Linked DNA regions of Homo sapiens: regions 1 and 2 are each linked to region 3. The links are contacts of gene promoters, found by promoter capture Hi-C in human tissues and cell types (Jung and others, 2019). All regions are on one chromosome and are shown on one strand. Each heading gives the region's core, a stretch centred on a gene start or on the middle of the fragment in contact. The rest is flanking DNA. Distances are from core to core; before and after follow the strand shown.

Region 1 (3,012 bases), core at 78-2,577, 300 kb before region 3:
GTTTTACATTCATACTGCCAAATTCCTCCCCAAAGGGCACTATATTAATGTATACTGTGATTAGCAATATGTAAAAATGTTAGCTTTGTGATGGCTTAAACCACACTGGCTAGTATTACTAAAAAAAAATTGTTTTTGCTAATTTAATAGGTAAAAAGTGAGCTTGATTTTTTAATGTAAACTTTGTAGTGAAGTTTATCATGCGTTCAGAAAAGTACACAAATCACGAGTGAATTTTTACAAAGTGAACACCCCTGAGTAATCAGCACCCAGATTAAGAAACAGAACCTTACCCCTAGAGGCCACTATTGTGGCCCCGTTCCCCCTCCTCCACTCCACCCAAGGGTCATCGTTGTTCTGACTTCTCCCACCAGGGGCTAGTTTTGGAAAGTGGCGTTGCTCTAATTTTCATTTCCTGGATTACTAGTGGATCTAACCGCTTGCCACATCTTAGTTGATGAGCTGTAGTTTCTCTTTTGTAAATTGTCTTTTTAAGTTCTTTGTCTCAGAAACTGTTGATTCTTAAGCTATTTCCCAATGTCGAGTTTGGCTAAAGGCGGAGTGTAGTCATCATGACATTGTTTGAAACTGGAGAAACATGTCGTATGTGTGTCTATGTGTGTACGTTTTTTGCTCTCATGATCTTATCCTGACAATGTAGTAGTCCCCCCATCCAAAGTTCCACTTTCCATAGTTTCAGTTACCCATGATCAGCCTTGGTCTGAAAATATTAAATGGAAACACCAGAAATAAACAATTCCTAAGTTTTCAGTTGTATACTGTTCTGGGTGGCATGATTAAATCCCATACTGCCCCACTCTGTCCTGCCAGGACGTGACTCACCCCTTTGTCCAGCATCTTGGTGCCATAGACGCTCCCTGCCCGTGGTTGCTCCGTAGCCCTCTTGGCAGTATCACTATGCCTGTGTTCCAGTAACTCTTACTTCACTTAATTGTTCTATCTTGTTATTAGTTATTGTTGCTAATCTCTTACTGTGTCTAATTTATTAATTAAGCTTTATCATAAGTATGTATATACAGGAAAAAACGTAGCCTATGTAGGGTTCAGTACTATCTGTAGTTTCAGACAAACACTGAGAGTCTTGGGGTGAATTCCCTCCATGAGGGGGGACAGGTGTACTCCTCTTATTTATGCTTCTCCATTGCAAAGCAAGATGGCATCTCTCTAGGCAACACCTGGAAGCCAGGGTAACTTTTTGGTGACAAAGCTGAGCCTAAATAGTCTCTGCTGTACTTCCAGTGTCTGTGAGAATTACAGAAATAGGTCACTGAACCTTTTTAAAAATAGAACTGACACATTTGGGGAAAGCATTTTTTCTGCTGAGATAGCACACAGTACAAGATGAAATGATCCCTAGAGGGTAGATGAATTTAGACATTTGGTATTAAAAATAAATAAATAGTCTTAATGACTCACAGGGAACATAGCACCTTTCATAAGAAAGGTCTCTAAACATTGTTACCTGAACAGACCACAATAAATTTCTAATATACAAGGTACAAGCCATTGCCAGCCCCTGCCCACCTACACCTGGCAACAGCTTTTGATGGGAAGAGAAGGGCCACATTGGCTGTGGGCAGTTCCCTCAGCAATGCCAGATGTCCTGTCTCCCTGGGTTTGCTTGATCCCCTCTTAATTTCCTACACAGCCCACCAGCTCACCCTTGGACAGGCATATGGCTGCATAAGAGGCAAGAAGGGGTAGGGTTACCACACTGCCTGCGAGCATCTCCACTCCAGCTCTTCCAAGGCCTTGACCGCTTTGTGTTAGGGCAGCCCCAGAATCCTTTACCCAACGCTCCCCATGAGCTGTCTGGGACCCCAGATCTGCCTGTGCGGGGCCCTTTTCCACTTCCTCCTGAGCCATCTTCAGAAAGCTCCCTCTGGCTATTGCCCAGCCCCTCTTCACACCCCCTGCTGCCTTCAGGAGCCTCATGAATCCACAGTGGACCTCAGGTCTTCTTAAGAGATTCCTAAGGAACTCCCTCCCCTTCCATGCTGGGCTCTGCTACTGAGAAGAGCAAGGTCTGCCGGCTGGAAGGCAGGACCTCGGGGTACTGCGGGGAAGATGCTTTGATTTAGTCCAAGAATGGCAGGAGAATACCAAGAGGGATTGGCTGTCCCAGAAGTGGGGCGTGAATGGAAGCAAGGGGTGAAGTAGAGCAGGGGCAGGGCCACTCGCCTTTTAGGAAGCGTGGGCAGCAGGGAGAAAGGTATAGGGCTGTCACTACCCAGGTATCAGAGCAGTGGCTCTGGGAATGTGGGAAATAGGAGGGGACAGAGGGACAGGTATAAGACATTCTTCAGAAGTAGAACCCACTGAAGATTTGGTGACATAGAGTTGGCACCAAGGGAAAGACGAGTCACAGATGCCATGCAGCACCTTCTAACAAGAACTCAGCTCCTTTCATGATACAAGTGTCCATTCCATAGGAGTGTACTGAGTGCTTACTTTGTGGCAGATACTGCTGTAGACTCTAGAAATGACATGTAGCTACTACCCAAAGGGAGTTTTAATTCTGTTGGGAGAAAGGCAGGCAATGCAGACAACAAAGTAAACAAATAAAAAAGATGATTTCCCATGGTGACAGATGCTCTTGGAAAATAATTTGGGCCGGGGGAATTGTGGGATCGGGAGGACTTTTCAGAGAAAATGACATTGGAGCTGGATAAAAAGAAGGGGCCAGTCCAGGAGAAGCCAGGGCAACAATATTCTAGGTAAATAAAAGAGCCTCTGCAAAATGCCCCAAGGTAGCATCAACCTTAGCACACTTGAGGAGCAGAAAGAGGACCACTGTGGCATGACAAAAAGAATTTTGCAAGACTAAATTGTTTTCTGACCTCCTGCAGAGCTGCCGTTGAAGCCTTACTAACTTAGAGTTTCACCTCTGGTTTCTAGACACTACAAGCCCTTCCCGTTTCTCTTTTCTCTTTCTCTCCAGACCAGCTACAGCAAGGAGGGAGATCAGTAGCCTTAAGACCCCATGTAGGA
Region 2 (2,822 bases), core at 245-2,744, 410 kb before region 3:
TAGAGACAGGGTTTCACCATGTTGGCCAGGCTGGTCTCGAACTCCTGACCTCAAGTGATCCACCCACCTCAGCCTCCCAAAGTGCTGGGATTACAGGCATGAGCCACTGAGCCCAGTTTAAAAATAATTATTTAAATGTGAAGGGAGTAGGTGCTCCATGGGGATAGAAGAGTGGTGACTGCCTACTTTTGAGGGACATATATGACTGAGTACAGGGAGATTTCAGGGTTGCTGGTAATATCCTATTTCTTGATCTGGGTGGTAGTTTTCCTATGTGTTCATTTTGTAAAATTTCATCAAGTTATATACATTTGATCTCTACATTTTCTGAATGCATATTGTACTTCAATATAAAGATTATTATAAATTAAATATTTTAACGTAATTTATAGGTGATTACTTAGGAACTGTTAAAGACAATTTTTTTGCTTTACCTCTAGTTCCCACATAGTTGACTAAACCTTCCCCCATTTTTATACAAATAATAAAATGAGTGTGTCCCACAAATTAAATTCATAATATGAAATTTAGAATATGATTTTATTCACTCAACAACTATATGTATGGCTACGATGTGCCAGTCACTGTTCTAAGTTCTAAGGATAAGGCAGTTAGCAAGTTAAAAGTTCATGCTGACTGGGCAGGGTGGCTCATGCCTGTAATATCAGCACTTTGGGAGACCGAAGCGGGAGAAACGATTGAACCTAGGAGTTCAAGACCAGCCTGAGCCAAGAGAGAGCGGTCCCGTCACTATCCAAAAACAAACAAACAAACAAACAAACAAACAAACAGGCCAGGCAGGCATGGTGGCACATGCCTTGTGGTCCCAGCTACTCAGGAGACTGAAGTGGGAGAATCACTTGAGCCCAGGAGGTTCAGGTTGCAGTGAGCCATGATCACATCACTGCCCTCCAGCCTGGGCAACAAAGAAAGACCCTGACACAGTTTAGATATTTGTCCCCATCCAAATCTTATGTTGAAATGCAATCCCCAAAGGTGGAGGTGGAGCCTGGTAGGAGGTGATTGGATCATGGGGGCGGATTTCTCATAAATGGTTTAGCACCACTGTCTTGGCACTGTCCTTGCAATAGTTAAGAGATCTGGTTTAAGTGTGTGGCACCTTCCCTCCTACTCTTTCTCTGTCTCTCACCTCCCTCTACTTCTACCATGTGACGTGCCCATTCCCCATTTGCCTTCTGCCATGAGTAAAAGCTTCTTGAGGCCTTCCCAGACCCAGATGCCAGCACTATGCTTCCGGTACAGCCTGCAGAACTGAGTCAATTAAACCTCTTACAAATTACCCAGTCCCAGATATTTCTATATAGTAATACAGGAATGGCCTGACACAGTCTTAAAAAGAGATGATAGTGGCCTGAAGCTAAGGTATTGAGGAGGAGGGGTAGAATTGTTCAGTCAGAAAATATGTTTAAAGTAGAGTCAAAGACATCTGCTAACAGATTGATAACAGGTTATCATGTGAGGAGCAAGAACAGAAAGAAGTTAAAAACACTCCCAAGGTTTTTTTTTTTTTAAATCCTGAGCAACTAGAAAGATGGAGTTGCCATTAACTGAGATATGGTAAACTGAAGGTAGAAAAGATTGCAGGGGAGGGGTGCCAGTCAGGGGCCTATTTTGAAATATGAAAGTTCTGAATGCCTATTGAATATCCAGATGAAGGTGTTCATCAGACAGTCAATGGGTTTGGAGTTCAGGTAGAAATCTGGCCTGCCAATATCAGCATATACATTAGGCATTGAGAGTCATCTGGAATATAATGTAGACAGGAGGAAACCCTGCAGCACTCCAAAATTAACAAGCAGAGACTAAAAAGAACCAGCATAGGGGACTGAGAGTGCCAGTGAGATATGAGGAAACTGGTGTCCAGAAACCAAACTGAAGAAATCATTTCGGGAAGAACTTAACTGTGTCAAATACTTAAAAAGTCAAGTAAAATAAAGACTAAGAAATGATCCTTGGATATAACATTGTGGTAATCACTGGTGATCTTGACAAGAACTGTGAGCACAAAACCCTGCCTAGTATAGACTCCAGAGAGTGGAAGGAGATGAATTGTAAACAAGTACAGGTTAACTCTTTCCAAGGGTTTTGCTATAAAAGCAAGCATTATAAAATTGGCAGTACAGTTCCTAGGTTAGCCCACAAGGGTAGATTTGACACATAAGGGTACCTGAAGTATTTGTAAATCAGCCTTTATATTCTGTAGCAATAGTGCATGCTAGCAGTATAAAGAAATGAATGTGCTGACTTAAATTTGATTAATATTTGAGGAAAAGTATGCAAAAAATTTAAGCAATGAAAACAGAAATTCAAGGAAATGTGTATGACACATTTAAGAACTTTATAAACAGCACTGTTTTTTTATGTCTATTCTCCACCTCAAAATGTTTAAGTTTCCTTTTCATTTGATGAGTTATTGCACTGACAGTATCTCTGTCCTGTGATTATGGCTGTTTTCAAGGCCTACCAATAAAACAAGCTTGCGAAAGGGGTATGTACAAAAGAAAAAAAAATTCTGCATACCTGGGCAAGAATTGAAGAGAAAAAAACAGAAAATTTAAATAATGAAATATACACACACACCCACACACACAATATGGTTACAAAGATAAGGCTAATTTTCAGTATTAGTTAAGTATCAATAACTCAGGGCATGCCTAGATTTCTATTAAAAATATTACAAGAAAATCCTAAATACCTCTTCCTAAAATTAACTGCTAATTATTTATCAATAGAGCTAACAGAACATTTAAGATAAATTCTTAACCAACTTATCAAGTCTGGAACACGCATACTTAATTTAA
Region 3 (2,765 bases), core at 153-2,652:
CGCACCCTGGTCTGCTTGAGGACGCCTCTTTTCACACTGACAAGGTCCAGGGAGGACTTCAGGATGCTTCCAGCCTGCAAAATGTGGAAGCGCCCACGTGTGGCCTGGTCCTCCGCCCTCCCGGGTGAAAGTCCTGGAGAGATTTCTCGGGCGCGTCCGTGAAAGCAGGGCACTAATGGGGAGCCTACCTCTTAAAACAGCGCACTTGCCCTACGGACGAGCCTCTAGGCCCTGGTGGTCTGGAATGGGAGTGGGTTGGAGCTGGGACAAGAAAACTCCACTCCAGGATGAAACGCGACATGCAAATCTTCACCGGGTTAAACAAACAGCCGAGCAAGCTGCAGCTTCAGCGGAGGTGGAGGTGGGGGCGGACGCCGCTCGCGCCGGTCTCTGTTTCCAAAGTTGTTACAGTGAGAAAATAAGCGGCTTCGTGCAGCGTGTTGTATGGGCTGATGCCTCCCACCCCCATGCCAGCCCACAGCAAAACCCGGCAGATAATCAGCACATCCCACTGTTTAGTCATATTTGACAACTGGGTTAACCTGGTATCTAAGCGCTGGCGAAACCGTACAAAGGGTGCCCTCAATTACCACCAGAAGCCTCTAGCGTGAGTGGCACTTGTATTACCCCCCGGGTCAGAGGCCAGAGCGACAATTAGGAAGTCACTTACACCGCTGGGGGGAAATGGCGGGATGCAGCAGGCTCCAGGCCCTCCCAACAAATCTGTGGATGTAGATCTGTACAGAGAGGCCTATTTCGCTCCTCTCGGAGGAGCTGTCCCTTCGCGCCCCCTCCCCAGTATAACTGTGAGAGTGAAATTGAATCTAGTGGAATAAGGAATTGGGTAGAAGACACACGAAAATGATAAAAATCACAAGCAAGAATGATAGATACAAGCTGAAGTTGTGTTCTGTAGGCAAAAGCCTGGACACACAAAGTGAGGGCTCACATTTCCGTCTCCACTTGGGCCCTGCTGGTGCGGGCTGTGTCTGGGTGTCTCCTCCCCTCCTGCCTCCTTTCCTACAAGTGGGGAGTCGAGTAGGACTGTCAGCCCTAACTTGCAACATCTCGGGGTGGTTTGTGTGTGGGGGGGTGCTTGTGGCTCGGTTTCATTGGTACTTAAACCTGGCTTGGTGCGTGAGTGTAAATTTTTAATTGCACTGTAATTTCTTCAGTCCCCAGCCCGCCCTCGCCCCCCCCCCGCAAGTATCCCCCACTACTCCCCCCCACCCCCGCGGCCCTAGCTAGCTGACTTGACTGGCACGCGCCGGGAGCCCGGGCTCGGGCCCCTCGGAGCGTCTGATTGGCTGCGGGGCAGCTCCGGTCTGCTCTGCCTGCGCCCTCATTGGGCGAGAGGCGCAGCCAGCGGCACTTCAAAGCGGGTGCTCCTCGCACTTAGGCTGAGTTTAGCCGGCGGGAGCCTGGAGTCCGCTCGGCACGAGCGCGGGGACGCGGGAGCCGCGCGGGACCCAAGCAGTTTTTCCGAGCAGCCGCCAGGCTCAGCCCCGCTCCCAGCCTCGCTGCGCAGCCAGAGACCTGCTATGGCCACGTCTATACTCGGGGTAAGTCGCAAGCGCGGCAACGCATTTGCTTGTTTTAACCGGAGTAATTTTTCGTTATGGCTTCTGGGGTCTGCGGCTCCGGAGAAACTGTTGCTGCTAGACTGCAGCTTCAGCTTCTATTAGCACTTTCCACATTTCTGGGACTGATTTTTCCCCAAGTTTTTGGAACCCAGAAAGATGCCTTTGCAAGAAAAGGCCTTCTTAATCAAGTCCTTTTTCATTTGGTTTCAAAAAAAAGCTAGAGGTTTCTTTTCTTCCCCTCGTGATTTATACCCCATCCCCCGCATTGCTTTGGGGATTTTGTTGCAATTATGCGACAATGGTGTTTCCAGAAAACAGTCTTAATCGTTTTGCAGTCCATCTAGTCACGCTAATAAACATTTACATTTCCGCGGCTCCCCAATTCGCCCATGACTTTGAAATCTGTCTCTGGCCGCTTATCCTCGGATTATTGTTTTCATAATCGCTGTTTTTGTGTGTATGTAAACTTTAAAACCAAACGTTTTCTATTAAAAAAGAAAAGTCAAGTCGTAGCCACCCTGGGAGAGCTGCAAGTTTCGCCCGTCCCTGGCAGCTGTTTCGGCCGCCTCCGCCCTCACCCGGTGTTTGTTGTCTCTGGTCTCTGTGTTTACCTTCGCGCTTCACCCCGAAGGGCGACTTGGGGTCTTCTGGGAGATGAGCCGGTTTACGGCGACAACCCAAGTCCGGTTGTAGGCAGGGTTGCAGCGGGGAACACGGAGGCATCTTTGATTTATAGCCTCAGCGAAGTGCAACTTTCCGGCGCCTGGACCTTCGCCCGGGTGATCGCCCCTGCTCCGCGCCCGGTGCGGCGACTCCTCCGCGGGCGCGTGGGGAGGAGGCGCGAGGCGGGGAGCCAGGACCCCCCGGGAGCAGCCGCAGGGGACGAGGCTGCTCACGGGTGCACTTTGTTTCTTCCCCCACTTCCTCTTGCCCTCCTCCTTCTTGCTCCCTCCCCCATCCCACCCACTCTAGGAAGAGCCGCGCTTCGGAACGACCCCGTTGGCCATGCTGGCGGCGACCTGCAACAAGATCGGCAACACGAGCCCGCTGACGACGCTGCCAGAGTCGAGCGCCTTCGCCAAAGGCGGCTTTCACCCCTGGAAGCGCTCCTCGTCCAGCTGCAACCTCGGCTCCAGCCTCTCGGGCTTCGCGGTGGCCACCGGGGGCCGTGGCTCGGGCGGC

Evidence for each region. The method cuts DNA at HindIII sites, captures the fragments that hold promoters and counts their contacts. A contact is called where the count stands out against the background at its distance.
Region 1: a contact is called between a fragment that was not itself captured here and the fragment with the promoter of SP9 in region 3, in 1 of the 25 tissues and cell types used here (lymphoblastoid cells).
Region 2: a contact is called between a fragment that was not itself captured here and the fragment with the promoter of SP9 in region 3, in 1 of the 25 tissues and cell types used here (heart right ventricle).

The regions. Positions count from the first base shown.
Region 1 is chr2:174,035,753-174,038,764 of GRCh38, forward strand. No RefSeq gene overlaps it. Among named protein-coding and RNA genes, the nearest start is that of LINC01960, 12 kb to the left of the region's middle. RefSeq lists enhancers at 1,412-1,912, 1,913-2,413. The HindIII fragment of the contact is 5,340 bases long and covers 1-3,012 here.
Region 2 is chr2:173,920,773-173,923,594 of GRCh38, forward strand. All of the region lies in intron 4 of SP3 (Sp3 transcription factor), which reads right to left. Among named protein-coding and RNA genes, the nearest start is that of SP3, 43 kb to the right of the region's middle. The HindIII fragment of the contact is 4,507 bases long and covers 1-2,822 here.
Region 3 is chr2:174,333,552-174,336,316 of GRCh38, forward strand. It overlaps SP9 (Sp9 transcription factor), which reads left to right and starts at 1,403. Exons shown (of 2, transcript NM_001145250.2): 1 at 1,403-1,562; 2 at 2,556-2,765. The coding sequence starts at 1,542. LOC102724194 (a long non-coding RNA gene) reads right to left here and starts at 1,425. Exons shown (of 3, transcript XR_427194.5): 1 at 189-1,425; 2 at 6-74. The HindIII fragment of the contact is 14,947 bases long and covers 1-2,765 here.